Linked DNA regions of Homo sapiens: regions 1, 2, 4 and 5 are each linked to region 3. The links are contacts of gene promoters, found by promoter capture Hi-C in blood cells and fetal thymus (Javierre and others, 2016). All regions are on one chromosome and are shown on one strand. The core of a region is centred on a gene start or on the middle of the fragment in contact, and the rest is flanking DNA. Distances in the headings are between cores, read along the strand shown. Region 1 overlaps RAB11FIP1 (RAB11 family interacting protein 1). Region 2 overlaps PLEKHA2 (pleckstrin homology domain containing A2). Region 3 holds the start of NSD3 (nuclear receptor binding SET domain protein 3). Region 4 has its middle 5.5 kb from the start of PLEKHA2. Region 5 overlaps PLEKHA2 (pleckstrin homology domain containing A2).

The links. The method cuts DNA at HindIII sites, captures the fragments that hold promoters and counts their contacts. A CHiCAGO score of 5 or more calls a contact.
Region 1: a fragment that was not itself captured here is called in contact with the fragment with the promoter of NSD3 in region 3 in 5 of 17 cell types (neutrophils, erythroblasts, fetal thymus and 2 more); the score reaches 10.3 in neutrophils.
Region 2: a contact is called between a fragment that was not itself captured here and the fragment with the promoter of NSD3 in region 3, in 1 of 17 cell types (neutrophils). The highest score is 6.4, in neutrophils.
Region 4: a contact is called between a fragment that was not itself captured here and the fragment with the promoter of NSD3 in region 3, in 3 of 17 cell types (total CD8 T cells, non-activated CD4 T cells and naive CD8 T cells). The highest score is 7.3, in total CD8 T cells.
Region 5: a fragment that was not itself captured here is called in contact with the fragment with the promoter of NSD3 in region 3 in 5 of 17 cell types (naive CD8 T cells, total B cells, total CD8 T cells and 2 more); the score reaches 7.9 in naive CD8 T cells.

Annotation. Positions count from the first base shown.
Region 1 is chr8:37,858,895-37,862,574 of GRCh38, reverse strand. It overlaps RAB11FIP1 (RAB11 family interacting protein 1), which reads left to right. Exons shown (of 6, transcript NM_001002814.3): 6 at 1-3,680. Among named protein-coding and RNA genes, the nearest start is that of BRF2, 11 kb to the right of the region's middle. The HindIII fragment of the contact is 2,585 bases long and covers 88-2,672 here.
Region 2 is chr8:38,925,920-38,929,291 of GRCh38, reverse strand. All of the region lies in intron 2 of PLEKHA2 (pleckstrin homology domain containing A2), which reads right to left. Among named protein-coding and RNA genes, the nearest start is that of PLEKHA2, 26 kb to the right of the region's middle. The HindIII fragment of the contact is 8,936 bases long and covers 1-3,372 here.
Region 3 is chr8:38,380,728-38,384,258 of GRCh38, reverse strand. NSD3 (nuclear receptor binding SET domain protein 3) reads left to right here and starts at 1,988. Exons shown (of 24, transcript NM_023034.2): 1 at 1,988-2,460. It also overlaps a transcript of LETM2 not described here. RefSeq lists silencers at 1,082-1,431, 1,622-1,771, 1,802-2,201 and enhancers at 1,850-2,640, 2,931-3,465. The HindIII fragment of the contact is 5,398 bases long and covers 1-3,531 here.
Region 4 is chr8:38,893,942-38,897,820 of GRCh38, reverse strand. No RefSeq gene overlaps it. Among named protein-coding and RNA genes, the nearest start is that of PLEKHA2, 5.5 kb to the left of the region's middle. The HindIII fragment of the contact is 2,100 bases long and covers 995-3,094 here.
Region 5 is chr8:38,943,808-38,947,412 of GRCh38, reverse strand. PLEKHA2 (pleckstrin homology domain containing A2) reads right to left here. Exons shown (of 12, transcript NM_021623.2): 4 at 3,576-3,605; 5 at 1,192-1,289. Among named protein-coding and RNA genes, the nearest start is that of HTRA4, 29 kb to the left of the region's middle. The HindIII fragment of the contact is 270 bases long and covers 1,742-2,011 here.

The DNA of each region.
Region 1 (3,680 bases), core at 131-2,630, 520 kb after region 3:
ATTTTAACACTGGGGTTTTCTTTCTTTCATACTGAGATTTTTTTTCAGTATGTATCCTCCAGCTCTTAAAGCTTACCTGAGAAAGCTTTAAATGAGAAAAGGACCATGCGATTGGTGCTGTGTTACATACACATACTTTCTTGGCTTCTGAGTAGCTCAGGTGTGGCTTTTGGCTGCAGATGTTAAATTTTGATACCATGTAAACCTACCCAGCTTCTCAGACTTGGGTCTTGTTTTTTGATGGGAACAGAGGTGTTTAGAGAAAGCCTCTGAGTATGCCTTTCAGATTTTGAACAAGCGGCCTTTTCTAAACATCGACTTCTACTACTCTCTAGCCTTAAAATACCTTCTGCTTAGATCCAGGGCCCTTCTACTGGAGATAGGAAAAGTAGAATTCAGGAATTAAAAGAATTACTCTTTATTCAATTTGAGGAACTTGGTGAAAGCCCCTCCTCTTATGACAGCCAGGTTCCTGCTGGCTAGACCAGCCTATTCAGCGCTTTGCTAGGGGATTGGGTGGTCCACGCACTCGCTAATACAGTTCTCCAGGTGTGGAATGATGTCAATACGATTGCTTGGCCTTTTCCCCCTGTGCCTTTGCTCGGTGCTCTGGTTTCCTCAGCAACACTCCTTGTAAGGGGCAGAGACAGGGTCCACCAACTCCCCAAGATGAAGAAGCCCCTTCAGGCCAGTCGTGGTGGCTCATGCCTGTAATCCCAGCACTTTGCAAGGCCGAGGAGGGTGGATCACTTGAGGTCAGGAGTTCGAGACCAGCCTGACCAACATGGCGAAACCCCATCTCTACTAAAAATACAAAAATTAGCTTGGCATGGTGGTGCGTGCCTGTAATCCCAGCTACTCGGGAGGCTGGGGCAGGAGAATTGCTTGAACTTGGGAGATGGAGGCTGCAGCGAGCCAAGATCGTGCCACTGCACTCCAGCCTGGGCAAGAGTTTTTTTAAGACTCTTAAAAAAAGAGCCTGGGCAATTTTTTTAAGACTCTGTCTTAAAAAAAACTAAAAAGAAAAAAAGAAGCCCCTTCACTCTACAGGGGACAGGAGACCATGGATTGGACCCCAAAGGGATTGAACTGCATCTGCATGTCTGTCCTTTGAACACTTTCTCTCCCTGCCCAAAAGGAAACCCAAATTATTTGTGGGATACTGGGGAAATTGTAGTGAAGGGCTTAATGTAGTTAATAAAAGTTAAAAGTCAGTAGAAAACAGGTGCCTCAGCCTTCAAATGGTTGCTTTTTTTCCATTTTCCCTCATGAATAGACTCACCAGCATTTTACCCCCTTGTTATAAAACTGTGCAGAGCAAGAAGATGATACTTATTTTTGAATTTGTATTTTTAAAACTAGATTTATAGACTTTTTTTTTTTTTAACTAGGGCACTTGCTTCCTTCTTAGCTAAAAGCACCAGCTGAGATTTTTCAGGTAATTTTGTTGTTACTCACTTAAGACTGGAATTAGAATGTTTCTGGTATTTCTCATTTTTTTCCCTGGCTATGATAGAATCTCATCTAATCTTGACATCTCTCCTAGGGGAAGAATATCACAGGCTAATAGCGTGGTTGGGGGTGAAGATGATAGCAGTTATTAAATCAGGAATCTCTTTTATGTGTGTCCTTGTTACATTGAGGTTAAGAGACAAAATCATTGGCAGTGCAATCTCTTTCCAGGATTTCGTTTGCTGTGGCATTGGTTATATCAGAGCACTTTAATCTGAAGGATGATACTGTAACTTGATTTATCTAATTAGCTTTTAATTATCTACAGCTATTTTATTTTATTTAATTCTCTCCTACAGTACTGGGACCACTGTAAACTTCTCAGATGACTTGTATTTTTGTAGTGCTATGAAATTTATTTACATACTTATAAAGAAAACTGTATGTTCACTTGAACTCTGAAAATGTACATGTATGGCTGGACGCGGTGGCTCACGCCTGTAATCCCAGCACTTTGGGAGGCTGAGGCGGGTGAATCACTTGATTGAGGTCAGGAGTTCGAGACCAGCCTGGCCAACATGGCAAAACCCCGTCTCTACTAAAAAATACAGAAATTAGCTGGGTGTGGTGGCAGACAGCTGTAATCTCAGCTGCTCGGGAGGCTGAGGCACAAGAATCGCTTGAGCCAGGGAGGTGGAGGTTGCAGTGAGCTGAGATCACATCATTGCACTCCAGCCTGGGCAACGGGCGAGACTCTGTCTCAAAAAAAAGAAAGAAAGAAAAGGTACATGTATATATTTGTCCTGCATTATGTTTTTTACTTGATATAAATGTATTTTTACTGTGATAGTCCAAGTGCCCTGGGGGGCAGGTGTGCTCTATGTGGTTCTTCTTCCATTGGAGAGCTGGCGTAGAGATCTGCAGTGTTCACAAGGATGTTGGTTTGGAGATGTCTGCTGCTAGGACCTGGGGTGTGTGACTCAGTCCATATGAGAGGGACATCTGGGTGGAGGAGTAAATTCCTGTGCTCTGAAATGCCACTTGGTAGCTCTGGACAATGAAGGACAATTGACTCAAGGGTGCCTGGCTTCTGCTGCTGCTGGGAAAAAATTCAGTTTATAGCATTCCTGCACCTCCCAAAGTAGATAACCTGGAGGTCATTCAGTTAACAACTGTCCCTGAGGACTCAGTTTTGGGGGAGGGGTTATCTGGGAGAAGCTTTAGCCTGTTCTGAGCCATTAGGAGACATTAGTGAATTGGAGCACTGGAGAATCCTACAAATGGCCTATGTCTCAGAAGAGCTGGGACCTCCTTCCAGCTGCTGCAGATGCTGACAGGCCCTGGGAGGCTGCTGTGCTCTGGAGAAGCTGGAGCAGCTCATTTCTTGGCCTAGCCTGGCTGCCTCAGAAAGAGCAGTCAGGACTTGAGGGAAGCATCAAATTCTATACCCATAAACTGCAGTTGGAAGTCAGCTTTTTGAAATGTCCAGCCTTTGCCCAATTGTTTCAGATCATCTCATGCCTCAGGCTTTGGCAGGTATCCTGCCCTCCATCTTATTCCAGTGTGTTCACCTCATCAAGGCAGCAGAGTGGATGAAGGAGTAAGTCTGCCCTTTGCCATACTGAACAGCTGTGGACCCCGATTGGTGAGGGCTCTGCATATGCCTGTATGAAGGAGATACAGGTGTGTGTGCACATGCCGGTATGAAGAAGACACAGGCATGTGCTTCTCAGTTTTGCTAACAGTGGGAGCTCAACGGGGCAGAGGGAGGAAGGTCCATGATGCTCAGCCACATACTGTAGAGAGAGGCAATTTAATGTTAAATGACGCACCATCCTCCCTCCCACCCTTCTCCCAGTCAACTTTTTTTCTTTTTCTAGAACTACTAATTATCTCTCAAGGCTGAAAAATTAATTGCCTTAGGTGGAGAACTTAATTCCTAGTATCCACCAAACTTAACTCCGTATCTCCATATGGTGTCTCCATATCTACTGTGTGAGCTACTTAACTGACGCCCTCTTCCTCCAACTGAAGGATCGCCCAACGTTTTTGGATTATAGAATTATTATTTCCTGCTTTCTTTCTTTGGGACTTTTGAATTTCTTTGGTTTCGTTTTTAAGAAGTAACCCAACATTTCCTACAACACTAAATAAAATGGTACTTACCTTTCAAAGATTTGTGTCTGTAGTTTGGTATGGGTGCAATAAAAATTTATTTTGTCTTCCTG
Region 2 (3,372 bases), core at 554-3,053, 550 kb before region 3:
AGGGGGAAGGAAGGAGAGATGCTGGTGCCATCTGACCTTCTCTTACAGGCCCCTGGGGTGTCCAGCAGACAGTAAAAAGCAGCTAGCAGGAGACGGAGGGAGGGGACGCCCCTGGTAATCCCAGAGCTAGGGCATGAGCTGACATTGCTGTCTGTGAGCTAAAACCATAGCTCAGCCACCAAAAGCCACGGCCATGTAGACTCACAGAAAAGAATGTGCCTGCAGAGGGGGTATAGCTCAGAGTAGACATTTGAATGTAGGAGAACGGTGTGACAGGACTGGGAAGGAGGAGCATAGCTGCCGCTGCCCCACATTCCAAAGCCCTCACCCTGACATGAGCAACCAAAGCAGGGGAGCCAAGCGAATCCCAGGCACCAGGTGACCTGGGCCGTGGCTCTACCTGCTGCTCTAGGGCCAAACACCTCTCCTCCCCTCTGCCCTGTAGGTCCACTTGCTGATGCTAACGCGGGGACACACGACACGCTGATAGCTACTCTCCCCATTCTCCAGTTCAAAGTGTGTATTTAATCTTTCCCTTCAGGAGAAGTCGATTCTATATCATCCTCTGCTGCGTGGGCTTAATGTTTTTATTCTATTACTTGGATGTCGATTTCTTGTTGACAGACACCAGTATCAGCTTTAGACAGGATAAGTTTCATTGTGTGTTAAGTCTCTCAGCCACACCCCCATTCCCTTTATTTCCGTCTTCCAACTCTGGTGACAGAGACTTAAAGACCAGGTCGGGCCGGGCGCGGTGATTCATGCCTGTAATCTCAACACTTTGGGAGGCCAAGGCGGGTGGATCACTTGAGGTCAGGAGTTCAAGACCAACCTGGCCAACATGGTGAAACCCTGTCTCTACTAAAAATACAAACATTAGCTGGGTGTGGTGGCGCACACCTTTAATCCCAGGTATCCGGGAGGCTGCGGTAGGAGAATCGCTTGAACCCAGGAGACAGAGGTTGCAGTGAGCCAAGATCACACCACTGCACTCCAGCCTGGGTGACAGAGTGAGTGAGACTCCATCTCAAAAAGAAAAAAAAAAAAAAAAAAAAGACCAGGTCAGAGGCCTGGGCTTCAGATAATCTCCCGGAGGCATTTGGGTCCCAACTCTGACTGCTGGCCACCTAAATGTTTCTAAAGCTGTAAACTCAATAAGCCAACTCCATCAGCCCTTTCTTCAATCCAGCCTCAAACTCAATGTCATTTCCCCTCCACTTTCTAATCGGTTTCCCTCTCCCCTCCCCAGCCTCTGTCAGTAATTCCACCTCCTCTCCCCAGTCAACCAGGTACTAAACTTTCAAACATTCTTCCCTCATGTAGCCTCTAAACCTGCCCCCCCACTCTCCATTCCCACCACCTCAGGCATATCAGGAAGCTCTGTGACAAATCCCCAGCCGTCATCTCCAGCTCCAGCTCTCCCCACCTCCCCATCCATCCCGATGTCCTGGCCAGAACAAACTTTCTTAACAGATAACATCTGTAGCACTTTAGAGCTCATCAAAGCATTCTCACATACATTATTTACTCTTCACAGCAACAATGTCACAGGTGGAGATCATTGATATCATTACCATATACTGTGGATGAGGACAGGAGGCTCAAAAAATGGATGTTTCCTTAATGAATATATTCATCATGTTGTCCTGTGCTCAATTGATATAACTAATAAAACTGGTCTCTGAAGCAAAATCTAATATGAACCCCTCCCCCAAACATGCAATAACCAACCTCCTTTGCCTTCGAGACACTATTTAGATAATAAATTAATAAAATGACTTTTTTTGAGACAGGGTCTTGCTCTGTAACTCAGGCTGGAGTACAGTGTCCTGATCACAGCTCACTGCAGCCTCTAACTCCTGAGCTCAAGTGATTCTCCCACCTCAGCGTCCCAAGTACCTGGGACTACAGACATATGCCACCACGATTGCCTAATTTCTTTATTTTATTTTATTTTTTGTAGAGATGGGGTCTTCCTATGTTGCCCAGGCTGGTCTCAAATTCCTGGCCTCAAGTGATCCTCCCACAGGCCTGGGATTACAGACATGAGCCACCATGTCTGGTCATACCATTCTTTGGTATATAACTAGATCTATAAATATAGAAAGAGATGTATATAATAAATACATTGAACAAATGTTGAAGGTTAAAATGTAAAGCAAAATCTAACAACAACATACCAAAGAGAAGTTTTGAGAAAACTTAGAATAGTCATCACTATGGTTTTGCAATAGTTATTTAACCTCTGCTAAGTTTCATAGCTTCTATCTGTTTAGCTGCTTGGACTTTAATACTGAGTAGTGCTAACTCTTAACACAATTCTTTCAATGTGCTACTTAGTTTTTTGTTTGTTTGTTTGGTTGGTTGGTTTTTTTTGAGATGGAGTCTCGCTCTTGTTACCCAGGCTAGAGTGCAATGGCGTGATCTCAGCTCACTGCAACCTCTGCCTCCCGGGTTCAAGCGATTCTCCTGCCTCAGCCTCCTGAGTAGCTTGCCACCATGCCCTGCTAATTATTGTACTTTTAGTAGAGACAGGGTTTCGCCATGTTGGCCAGGCTGGTCTTGAACTCCTGACCGCAGGTGATCGCCTGCCTTGGCCTCCCAGAGTACTGGGATTACAGGCGTGAGCCACCGCACCCGGCTTAGTTTTTAATTTTTTTTAATTTAGACAAAGTACATCCTGTTATAAAGATACAACTTGTTTAAAAAATATGATGGCTACAGAAAACACATAAAGCAAAATTGCAGTTTCTAATTCTACATTAAGCTCTCAAAAAGCCCACATATAATTTTAATTCTAAGCATGTTTTGACCAGGCCCAGTCAAATCCAGCAGTGAGCTCTGACTGCACACTACACTTCAGTCTCGGAGACGGAGTAAGAACCCTGTCTCTAAAAAAAAAAAAAAAAAGTACTTTTTAATAATATTTTTACCCTTAGCAAAATTTGCATTTGGTAAAAGTACAGATTTGTCACTTATAATCTTCTTTTGGGATTTTTTTTTTACCAAAGGATTCTGCGTTCTTACTCTAACACACTACAGACAAAAGCACATCAAATATTCCACTGACTCCTGGAAATCACAAGTCTACATGGATAGTTAAGATATCAATTACACAAAATCCATGAATTGAAGACACTTTGCCCAAACAATTTGCTGAAGATCTGAAAGTTACCATGATCTTAAGAGATAGTCTCTCAGGCAGAGATTATCTCCAGACAGACACAAGAAACTGTCAAGACTGGCTGCCCCTGCTGAGAGGACAGAAGTGGGAGGGAGAAATTTGTCACTAACTCTGCATTCCTACATTCCAAATTCTGCACCACGTGCATCTATTGCCCAATTTTTAAAGAACATTATTTCCTGGTTCTT
Region 3 (3,531 bases), core at 739-3,238:
AATTTACTAGATTCTCCTCAAGGGAGAAACCCAGGTGCCGGGTCAAGGCAACAGTTTATCAACAAAGCAAGGAAGACACAGGAGGAAGAAAAAGAAGAATGGAGGTAGAAAGGCTCATAGAAAAAAAAAAAAGACCAATTTAATCCCTCTTTCCTGGAGATAGAATTAAGCTAGACTTGGTGGCCCGCTTTGGCCATCTGTGTTTTAAAATGTCATATCACAAATAAAAAGTATGCTTTTACTGATAGCTGTAACTTGTGGTACTACTTAAAGCATACGTTTAAAAATATTTAATGATTAATAGTAATGAGATTTTTTTTTTTTTTTTTGAGACATAGCCTCTCTGTGTCGCCCAGGCTGGAGTGCAGTGGCGCGATCTCGGCTCACTGCAAGCTCCGCTTCCCGGGTTCACGCCATTCTCCTGCCTCAGCCTCCTGAGTAGCTGGGACTACAGGCGCCCCCCACCACGCCCGGCTAATTTTTTGTATTTTTAGTAGAGACGGGGTTTCACCGTCTTAGCCAGGATGGTCTCGATTTCCGGACCTCGTGATCCGCCTGCCTCGGCCTCCCAAAGTGCTGGGATTACAGGCGTGAGCCACTGCGCCCAGCCAATACTGATAATTCTCAGTATCTAGTATTAACCGGGTTACGTTTAAAAAAAATAGTTCATAATTAGTGCCCTTTTAAATAACTGATCTGTAGAAATCATTTAATTTCCTTAAGTGATATTTAAAGATAGAGATATCTAATTTCTTGTAATAGTACCAAAGACATCCAGCACTATAACGTCTACAGAGTATGACGTCTAGCGGTAAAATGGCTTTATTCTCAGAACAGAGTATCGGTTTCCTCATTTGCTTGCTGCCTCTGTTTCCTTTTTACGTTCACGTCTCTGTGCTGTAACCTTCCAAATCCTTATCACCAGGCCCCAGGAAATATCACCTGGTCGGCACACTCCTGCAGGGCCAGATCACTGTGCACACACTTAACCTTCCATTGTTTTCCATACGTTTCCTAGGATGCGGGGGGCTAGAGGATGACGGAGAGTTGCCTCCCGGTTCTTCCTCTCGTTCTTATCTTGGGCCCTCTAGGACAAATGTCCCTCACGTCCCTCGATGCGAAGGTCTGGCCGCGAGCAGCCGCGGCCTCCGGCACGTGACGGTCACGGAGCCGTCGCGGTCCCCCGCGGCTGGGGGGCACCCGGGGATGCGGCGGGCGCTGACGTCGTCCTCCCGGTTACCCACAAGCCTCCGGGCCGCAGCAGAGCAGGAAGAGGCGCGCGGGGCCGGCGCCTGCCGGGGAGGTCGAGGCGCTCCCTCGGCGAGCCGGCGCCGCCGGCCGGGTCTCCTACTGCTTGCAACCGGGGGAGGGGGACCATCCGACAGCTCAGCCGGGGCTGAGAGGGAGACGACGCCAAGGCGGTCTTGCATCGCCCCCGGCTTTCCAAATGCAGACCCTACCGGAACCGGAGCCCTTCCCTGACAGCCGTAGGACGGGAGACGGCCGAGGGGTCGCCTGGACTGCCCCGCCCTCGCGCGGTGACCCACCGGGGACCGTGCGAGGGTCGCTTCTAACCCTTAAGAGCTAGAGAGCCGAGTCACCCTGAGGAGCGCCGTATGGCGCTGGTTGCGCGTTGTTCTTTAATCAGCCTCACTGAACGCGCCGATCCCAGTTTTACCTCCCGGGCCCCACCTTTCCACGCCTCCTCCGGCTTCCCGGGGTGTTTTGTGTGTCACTCTCCCACGTACAGTCCCTCCCCGTCCCTCGTTCCTCGGCCCTCTCGCCCGGTCTCCCTAGTCGTCCAGACGCTAGCTGCCGCGGGCGTTCCTGGTTCGCGCTCCCGCCCCCTCCGCCCCGCCGACTCGCCGCTTCCTCCGGAGCCCCAGCGTCCCGAACCAGGGACTGCATTTCCCGGCAGGCGCCGCGGCCCGCGGCCAATGAGGGGCTGAGGATTTGGCGGCGGCGGCGCCCCGAGAGTCGGGGTGGGGGGGCTTTGTGCGCGGCGGCGGCGGGAGAGGCGGCGGCGGCGGCCAGCACGGAGGCGGAGGCCGAGGGGGCTGTGCACAGGTCGCCGCGGAGAGGCGTGCGAATTCCGAGCCGAGCGCCGAGGACCGTGCTACCCAGGCCGGGCTGCCAGCCGCAGGCTCCTCTCTGGCAGCAGCGGCGGCGCGGCGACCCCCGTCCCTCGGCCTCCCCTTCCCATCCCACCTCCCGAGCCTTCCTCTTCCCGCAGCACGCCCGGCCCGGCCCGGCCGTGGCCCTCCTCAGTGCCGGCCGCCATGGCAGAGGCGTCCGGCGCGGGGAAAATCTAGCCCGGGGATTTCATGCGGCCTAGCTCGGTTCCGCCTCCTCCTCGCGCGGCCCCAGCGGCTGCCCGCACCCCAGCCCCACTCCGGGCCTCCGTGTCTCTCCTGTGATCGCACTGACACGGCCGGGGGGTTAGAATGGAACAAACTGAAGGTAAAGTGCGTGTGCGTGTGTGTATGTGTGTGTGTGTGTGTGTGTGTGTGTGCGCGCGCGCGCGTGTGTAGTGCTAGGAAGGGCTGAGGAGGGAACGACGGGGAGGGGGCGACCTAGGGATGGAGCGCCAGACCCCAGGAGGAATGGAAGGGGAAGCGGGTGGCCTGAAAGGGCTCGAGGGGAGTCCTGACGGAGGAGCAGATGGCAAGGTGGGGGGTGTGGAGGGAATTGGGGGGTGGGCCAGGGGAGGTGGGGAGTGGGATGGGAGTCGGAGTGGCGCTGAGCTGGGAATTGGGAAAGTGGGATGGGGGCGGGGATAAGGATGGATCGGGGAGGGGCAGGGAAAGGGGAGAAGAGTTGCATGGAGATTACAGACCTGGGTGGACTGATAAATAGGGAGATTTGGGGATGGAGTGTAGGAACCAGAAGAGTCTGGGAGAAGGGGATAAATTTGCTGGAGAAATGGGGCATTTTATGGGAATGAAGGGAGAAATGAGGAATGGAAGTGAAGGAAAAGGTGGATTAGGAAAGGGGATGAGGCAGGCTGCAATAGGAGAATGGGAAATAGACGCAGGAAACTGGAAGACAGGATTGGGCTAGGGAAGGAAATTAACTGAATGATGACAGGGATGAGAACGATCGACTTAGCGTCAGAGTGGGAGGAAGAGAAGGGGATGGAGGTCGTTAAAGTGTTAGGAAGGGAGGCCTTTTGTTCCTGTATTTGTGTGTATTCTGTGTCTTTCTTTCAAGGCTAGAGAATAGAGAAGCTGGTGGTTATGGGATTGTGATTGTTGTGAAATGGGGAGGTGTGGGTTTTACTGTTTTGAGGGAGAAGGCGATGTGTTTGTGTTATGGAAGGGAGGCAGGGAGAGACATGGCCATAATTTGATGGTTTTGGGGAGGGAGTGAAGATTATTTCGATTTAAAGGGGGCAGGGGCAGCCATGTTTGCTGCCAAGGCACTGCAGTGTAAATAAATTCCTTTTCCTCTCCGACATCAGTATGAATCTGGAAGGGGCCAATTCAGACTGTTAGCCCCCTTTCTTTCTATTCATGAACTCTTTTCCCCTTA
Region 4 (3,879 bases), core at 795-3,294, 510 kb before region 3:
CTGGTATCGAACTCCTGACCTCAAGTGATCCATCCGCCTCCGCCTCCCAAAGTGCTGGGATTACAGGCGTGAGCCACCGCACCTGGCTGTGTCTAGCTTCTTATGTTTACTTTTGCCATCACTTCATTGACACATTTTGAAAGTACAGTATTGCTGTTGCCTAATTTTATACTTTAATTTTGTTCAGTGCAATAAACAGCCCTGATGTCTGAGAATGTGACTGTACCTGTGGGGAAAGGAATGTCAAAAAAGGACGTTTCATGTGAGCTATTTCAGCCCCCTTGTTGTACCAAGGTAAAATAAAGCTCAACAATTTGCTCAAGGTTTTGAAGCTATAATAGTTAGTGGCAGAGTTGGTTCTAGAACCCAGAGTTGACTACCTTAGAATCTTCTAGTATTGGTATAGAAACCTTGCCACCAAGATGAAAACTTCTGGCCTAGAACCTAAGAATCTCAACAGAAAACCTTATGCACTACTCTAAGCATTTATTTATGTACTTTCTATTCATTTTCAATGTTAATGGCTGGTTAGCTAGATAACCTAACAACCTCCAGTGGTGAGCCAGTGTACCCTGCAGGGAACTATTGTTCTGTCCTCATAGATACCCATTACATAAGGCTGCAGCTGGGGCCAGTTAGTTCTATTAGGGAAAGTGTGGGGCCAAAGAGGCCAAGGTCATTGGTTTGATTCTGGCTCAGGCCAGTTCATTTTGCACAGAGATGGATTGCTCCAGGGCTATACACTGCACCTCTAATGTTAGCCAGTCATTTTATAAATAGTTGCTATGGGTTTTGATAGCAAAGTATGAATAGTTCTGTACCATCCATTTCTAGAATGATTGCTCAAACTGCCATTGTTTTATTCAGTCCAATTCATTCAACAAACAATTATCTGAACCCATTACCATTTTTCCTTCTGTATGTCTTGCATTTACTTGTTTTCCAGGTACTTACTAATTGCTAATTGTTATGCATGTATTATCTCATTTAAGCTTTATAATGACAATGACCCTGCCATTATTTTATGGTGATGAGATGGCTAAGGCATACAGATAAAGCCCTGATACAAACCTGGACAGCCAGAGGCCAGAGCCTGGTCTTTTACCTACCAAGCTACACTGGTAGATGCAATGTTAGGCCTTGTGAAGGATGCAGAAAAGCATAAAACAAGACTCTTCCTTCCCACCGCTGACACTTCCTATATTTATCATCATTTAGAATCTCCATTCCATTTCACCTAGCAATTGCCTATCCAAAGAAAGTTATATGGATATATAGATAGCAATACATGCACACACATATGTATTTATATTCACTGCAGCATTGGTCATAATGGTAAAAATTGGAAATCACTTTCATGCGCATCAAGAAGGGATTGAACAGGTGCATCACTACAATCTTATGCTATGCTGCACTTAGAAAAGAATGAGGGCTGGGTGGGGTGGCTCATGCCTATAATTCCAGCAGTTTGAAAGGTCAAAGCAGGAGAATCACTTGAGCCCAGGAGTTCCAGACTAACATGGTCAACATGGCGAGATCTGTCTCTGGGAACGATTTTTAAAAATTAGCTGGACATGGTGGTGCACACCTGTAGCCCCAGCTACTCAGGAGGCTGAGGCAAGAGGATCACTTGAGCCCAGGAGTTCAAGGTTGCAGTGAACTATGATTCCATCACTACACTCCAGCCTGGGCAACAGAACCAGACGCTGTCTCAAAAAAAAAAAAAAAAAAAAAAAGAATGAGGTAGATATCTATATGAAAAATACTATACATTTTAAGTGAAAAAAGTACAGAGCTTTACATGTAGTATAATTCCATTTCTGTAAATAATTTTTTGCATGAAAAAGCTCTATAAGAATACATTCCAAACTGTTAACCACAGTTCTCTTAGGGCAGGGGTAGAGGGGTGATAATGGTGGATTTCACTTTCTAAGAGATGTATTCTGTGAGGGTTCTTTTTTTGCAACAAGCATGCATGCATTTGGTTTTTTTTTTAAAAAAAGAACAGGAATGGCTTAAATTTTTAATAAAATTTAAAAGTTCCATGAGGAAGAAAATAATATTGCAGCCTTCGAGGAGCTCATCTCTTACTAAGGAGGGAACATAGTATGTACAGAAACTGATACATGCAGAGGAGAGCAGAGATAAAATTCCCCGGGAAGATTATCAACCAGCTGTGGTTGAGAAGGGCAGGGGAAAATGCATGAAGGACATGGCCCCTTGCAAGGACCTTGAAAGAAAGGTTAAAATGTAGAAAAGTGAAGAGGAGGTGAGAATAGGTGGATTCCAGATACAGAGATGATCAGAGGCAAAGCACAGAGCAGGACCACATGGGATCTATTCAGGGAAGTGTGGCTGGTACAGTTGAGCTGGAGCACGGGAGGACATAGGAAGGATTTTCATGGGGAATGAAACAGGAAAGAAAGGTAGCTGGAGTGTCTTTATTGCTAAGCTAAGGAGTCTGTACTTATTATTAGGCTTCAAGAGCCACTGAAGGCTTTTGAGCAAGGAAGGGACACAGTTGGAAGTTAACTGGCTGTGATTTCGTAGTTACTGGCTGCCTAGTAACTAGACTCTGGCACCCAGCTACCTAGTTTTGACTCCTGACTCTGTCACTAATTAGCTGAATAGCCAGGGACCAGTGACTTCTCTGTGCTTCTATAAAATGGGGAAGGTGGTGATGACAGATAACTGTCTCATACCATGGCATTTGGGATTGAGTGAATTCATGCTTTTAGGAAACATGGTTAAGTGCTGACAATGCTAAATTTGAAAAATCAGTGTCATACCTTTGGATTTAAATCCTCGTATTTCATTTGAAACTTTTATCCCAAAGAGCTAACACTTCATGATAAATTATTAACTATTCTTTTTCCCCCACTCTCAGGGAATTAGAGATTTTTCATCTCATTTTACAGATGGAAGAATTTAGGTTTTAAGAGAGCAATAGCATCTCAGAATCACACAGCCAGTCATGATCTGAATCCCTGGGTTCTGAATGGTAGTTCAGTGACCTTTGCCCAATACTTAAGGTTGTCTCTTAGCTCAAATTCTCAGAGCCTTGAGAGTAGGAAAATGGGGAGTGGAAGAAGCTTAGGAAATTTCTGTTTATAGAGTAAGAGGAACAGCAGTAAAGGACAGTAATAAGGTAAAATCAAAAAAGAGAAAACTCTGGTGGAACATCTGGAAGTTTATAAAATCAGACTTGTAAAATATAAACAGGAGATATACATATAAATATATATACATACACACATATACATACATACTTACTGGTGCTAAAGTTATTTCCTAGTAAAAAAGTTTGGAAAGCATTGTTGTACTGCTAAGTCTAACACTAATAGTGTCATTTCTCAGCCTCAGAAATGAGTGTGCGTGCCGTCCCCAGAAATAACAGTCTCCTGGCCAAGAGCACCATTCCTATTGATTCATGCTGATGGCATTGTTTTCCCATCAGTTTGAATAAGTGTAGTGCACCACTCGGAATTCTGCATCCTCAGTGATGCCCTGCAATTAGAGGGAAGAACTGGGACTTCCCAGTTCAGAGTGAGAGAATGAATAGGTACTTAACTTTGGATCTATGACCATGTTTTAGCACTGTTTGACTTTATTTTTGCTTAGACTAGTTAAATAATTCACTATAGACTAGTTAAATAATTCACTACTTCAGTACTGAGGCCACACAGGGGCTACTCTTAGTAAATACTTGTGGGTGAATATAGTCAAAGTTATTAGCAAGAATAAACTCTAGCCAGTTTATTCCAAGAGATGCCTATGGTAGTCAGTGAAGTGGGTTGACTTTTACATCAGTGATTCCCAATACAAGCTGATTATTATAAACCATAGAAAACAAAGAAAAGCAAAAAGGATATTTGGACA
Region 5 (3,605 bases), core at 627-3,126, 560 kb before region 3:
AATGGCACGATCTCGGCTCACTGCAACCTCTGCCTCCCAGGTTCAAGTGATTCTCCTGCCTCAGCCTCCTGAGTAGCTGGGACTACAGGCGTGTGCCACCACGCCCAGCTAATTTTGTATTTTTAGTAGAGACGGGGTTTCACTATGTTGGCCACAGGTGATCCACCCACCTCGGCCTCCCAAAGTGCTGGAATTACAAGCGTGAGCCACTGCACCCAGCCATCCATCCTCTCTCTTTTCATCACTCTCTCTTTTCACGGGTTTACCAAGGTTTATCAGAATAAGAAGCTAATCAGCAAAAGTGCTTATAGGAGACTCAATTACACTCAGGTTGGGTCTAGCAATATGAATACTATATACGTGTACAAATTTCTTCTATACAGTTGTTCACAGGAACCCTGAGAAATCTGGGAGGATAATTTGCTGCAGCATGTAATAGTCACTACTGGAAGCCCCTCAAACATAAGCATTTCTGACTGTATGATACAGAAACAAACTTTTCAGCAAAGAAGCCATGATCTATATAAGCCAGGAGTCTGCCTGTCTTATTGATTAAAAGTCTAGTTTTTTCCAAAACATAGTTTCCCCTCTCCATCCTTCCTACCCTTCTTCCTTTCTTTTTCTATATCTCTAAGGAAAAAGAAAGGAATTCTTCATTAGCCAACTCAAGGAAAAAGAGCACACTCGTAGGACAGTCCATGAACGAGCTCTGTGATGCTTTTAAACAGAAGGCTTTTCTAGGACAGGGAGGCGGATGGCTTGGACTGACCCTGCAGGCAGCCTCTGAAAGTAAGAAGAGTATCCCCCAAGCTGGGAAAAAGTTCTGACTTCCCTCCCCATATGCTTTTCCCCTTACTTGACTTTTCACAGTCACCAATCCATTTTCCAATCCTACCACATTCTGAATCAGCATCCCAGAATCACCCGAAACATGACTGATCGGGAGCCCTCCCAGGAAGCACAAAGGGGACGCTCCATGAACTTCCCCTTGAACTTGATTCAAACTCAGACTCTCAGTTCAACTTGTGTTTGGTCAGCCAAGGAAAAAGACGAGGTGGGAGAGAACTGGGTACAGACCAGGCTCCTGGGAAAGTCCCCGCTGCCATCTCAGTTTTCCCCAACCCCAACAAGGCCATAGCCTGGGAAGAGGCACTTTTACTACCACCAGAAAACAGAAGAAACCAAACTTACGGTGATCTTGCTGGCTTGGTTCAGGGCTTCAACCCAGTCCTTCATATCTTTCTGATCATTGGCTTGAAGGAAATATCTCTGAGACAGGGCATTGATAACTACAAAAGCCACAGAAAAGAAGGGAAGACATTCCTAGGTCAGAATACAAGCAATACAACAAGTCTCCACAAAGCTAAGGTGTTTGAGGGAGTGAGATGAGTGAACTCCACAAAGCAGAACAAGAAATCTCCCATGATGCTAAGTCATTTGCCTGGATATCTAGGAAGCCCCAGGCCACACCTGCTCACTCTCTTTCCCACCTTTAAAAACATCCCATTGGCCACAGGAACAACACCTGACCATGTTAACAGCAGCCTCAGTGTGCTGTTCTGCGGTGATGAGGCTGCTGGTCTGCCGTCAACAAGACACAACTGTGAACCGCATTCTGGCGGTGCTAATACATTTACTGTCATCACGGTATATACAGAATTTTGGACCCATGCTTGGTCTCCTCTGGCACAACTGGTCTGGACTGGGAGAGTTGTCTGTGGTTGGGAAATAGAACAAAGCTTTCCTGAGATCAAATCTGTGACCTTGGCCTCACTCTCAACCTGTTCTTTCCTCTGAGCATTCCATTAGGTCAACAATTTACTTCCACATTCACTATTATTACATATATATATTTTCAGATCTGATAACCACAAAACGTGAGAGTCATTTCTGAGCTTAGCTATGAAATTTGCAAGAAATAGAAGAATGAGCATGCCAAAGAAGTCTGAACAAATCTGAGGTGGGGAGACAGAATCGCTCAAGGGAATACTTTATTCTCTTAGCATAAGCTTGAACTGTAGGAGGTGAGTCTCATGGGGTAGATGCAGAATTCATCCGTTCATTCATTCATTTGACAAATATTTACTGAGCACCTACTATGCGCTAGGAAACATCTTTAAGTGCTGAGGATACCACAGTGACAAGGCAGAGGAATACCCCTGCCTTTGTGAAACTTACATTCAGAACCACCCCAGATAGGCAACAGAAACTATTTGTTAGCATTTGCTCATAGCACTTAGCACAGCTGTGAGAACATAGTAGGAGCCAAGTAACTATTTGATGATGGATTCACTGAATTCACTGACCACTTCCTGACTTGAGGCACCCATGCACGGTGACTCTGCCTCCTACACCATCCCCCAACATGTCACTATTGGGCAACTGAGACCCTTAACAGAATTCTCCTTCCTTTGTCTTATCCCCTTCCTGGCACTGCCATCTGCGTCTCCTCTGAGTCCTCCATCTTTTCTGAGCACAACATTTCTCAGCTCTAAAATAAGGTTCACAGAAACTTATAGTGGACATTTTGCACCTGCCTTGTGGCATCAAGAAAACTGAAATGCATATGGACAATTATTAAAAGAAAAAAATGTTCGAGATGATGGACATTGATATGGTTTGGATCTCTGTCCCCACCCAAATCTGTGTCCCTACCCAAATCTCATGTTCAATTGTAATCCTCAATGTTGGAGGTGGGGCCTGGTGGGAGGTGACTGGATCATGATGGGTCGTGGGGGCGGTTTCTCATGGTTTAACACCATCCCCCATGCTGTTGTGTCATAATAGTGAGTTCTTGTGAAATTTGGTTATTTAAATATGCATAGCACCTCCCCACTCTCTTTCTTGCTTCTCCTCTGGCCCCATAGAGCCTGCAGAACACTGAGCCAATTAAACCTCTTTTTTTTTTCTTTTTTTGAGGTGGAGTAGAGTGCAATGGCCTGAAATCAGCTCACTGCAACCTCCGCCTCCTGGGTTCAAGAGATTCTCCTGCCTTAGCCTCCCGAGTAGCTGGAATTACAGGTACTCACCACCACGCCCAGCTAATTTTTTTGTATTTTTAGTAGAGATGGGGTTTCACTATGTTGGCCAGGCTGGTCTCAAACTCCTGATCTCAGGTGATCTGCCCGCCTCGGCCTCCCAACGTGCTGGGATTATAGGTGTGAGCCACCAGGCCCGGGCAAACCTGTTCTCTTTTTAAATTACCCAGTCTCAGGTATTTCTTTATAGCAGTTCAAGAACAGACTAATATAGATATGCTAATTACTCTATACATTATGTACCCCATGAATATATATAATTATTATTTGTCAACTTAAAAAATAAAACTAAAACCAAAAAAAAAAGAAAGAAAACAGAAATGTTACTAGTCCCTGAACCTCTGTCCTTATGTTATTAACAACCTTTGCAGCAAGACCAGGGAAAACAATATCACTTGACGTCCAGGACCGTCACTGTGATTTAAGTCACTCATACTCACAGGGTATAGTCACATGTGATCACAGGACTGTCTCCATGCAAAAGAGGAAGTTGCCATGTCAATATTAAATGAGTCCCTCCCCTGGCTCAGTACTTACCAAAGCAAAATGGAGTTTTTGGTTTCTGTT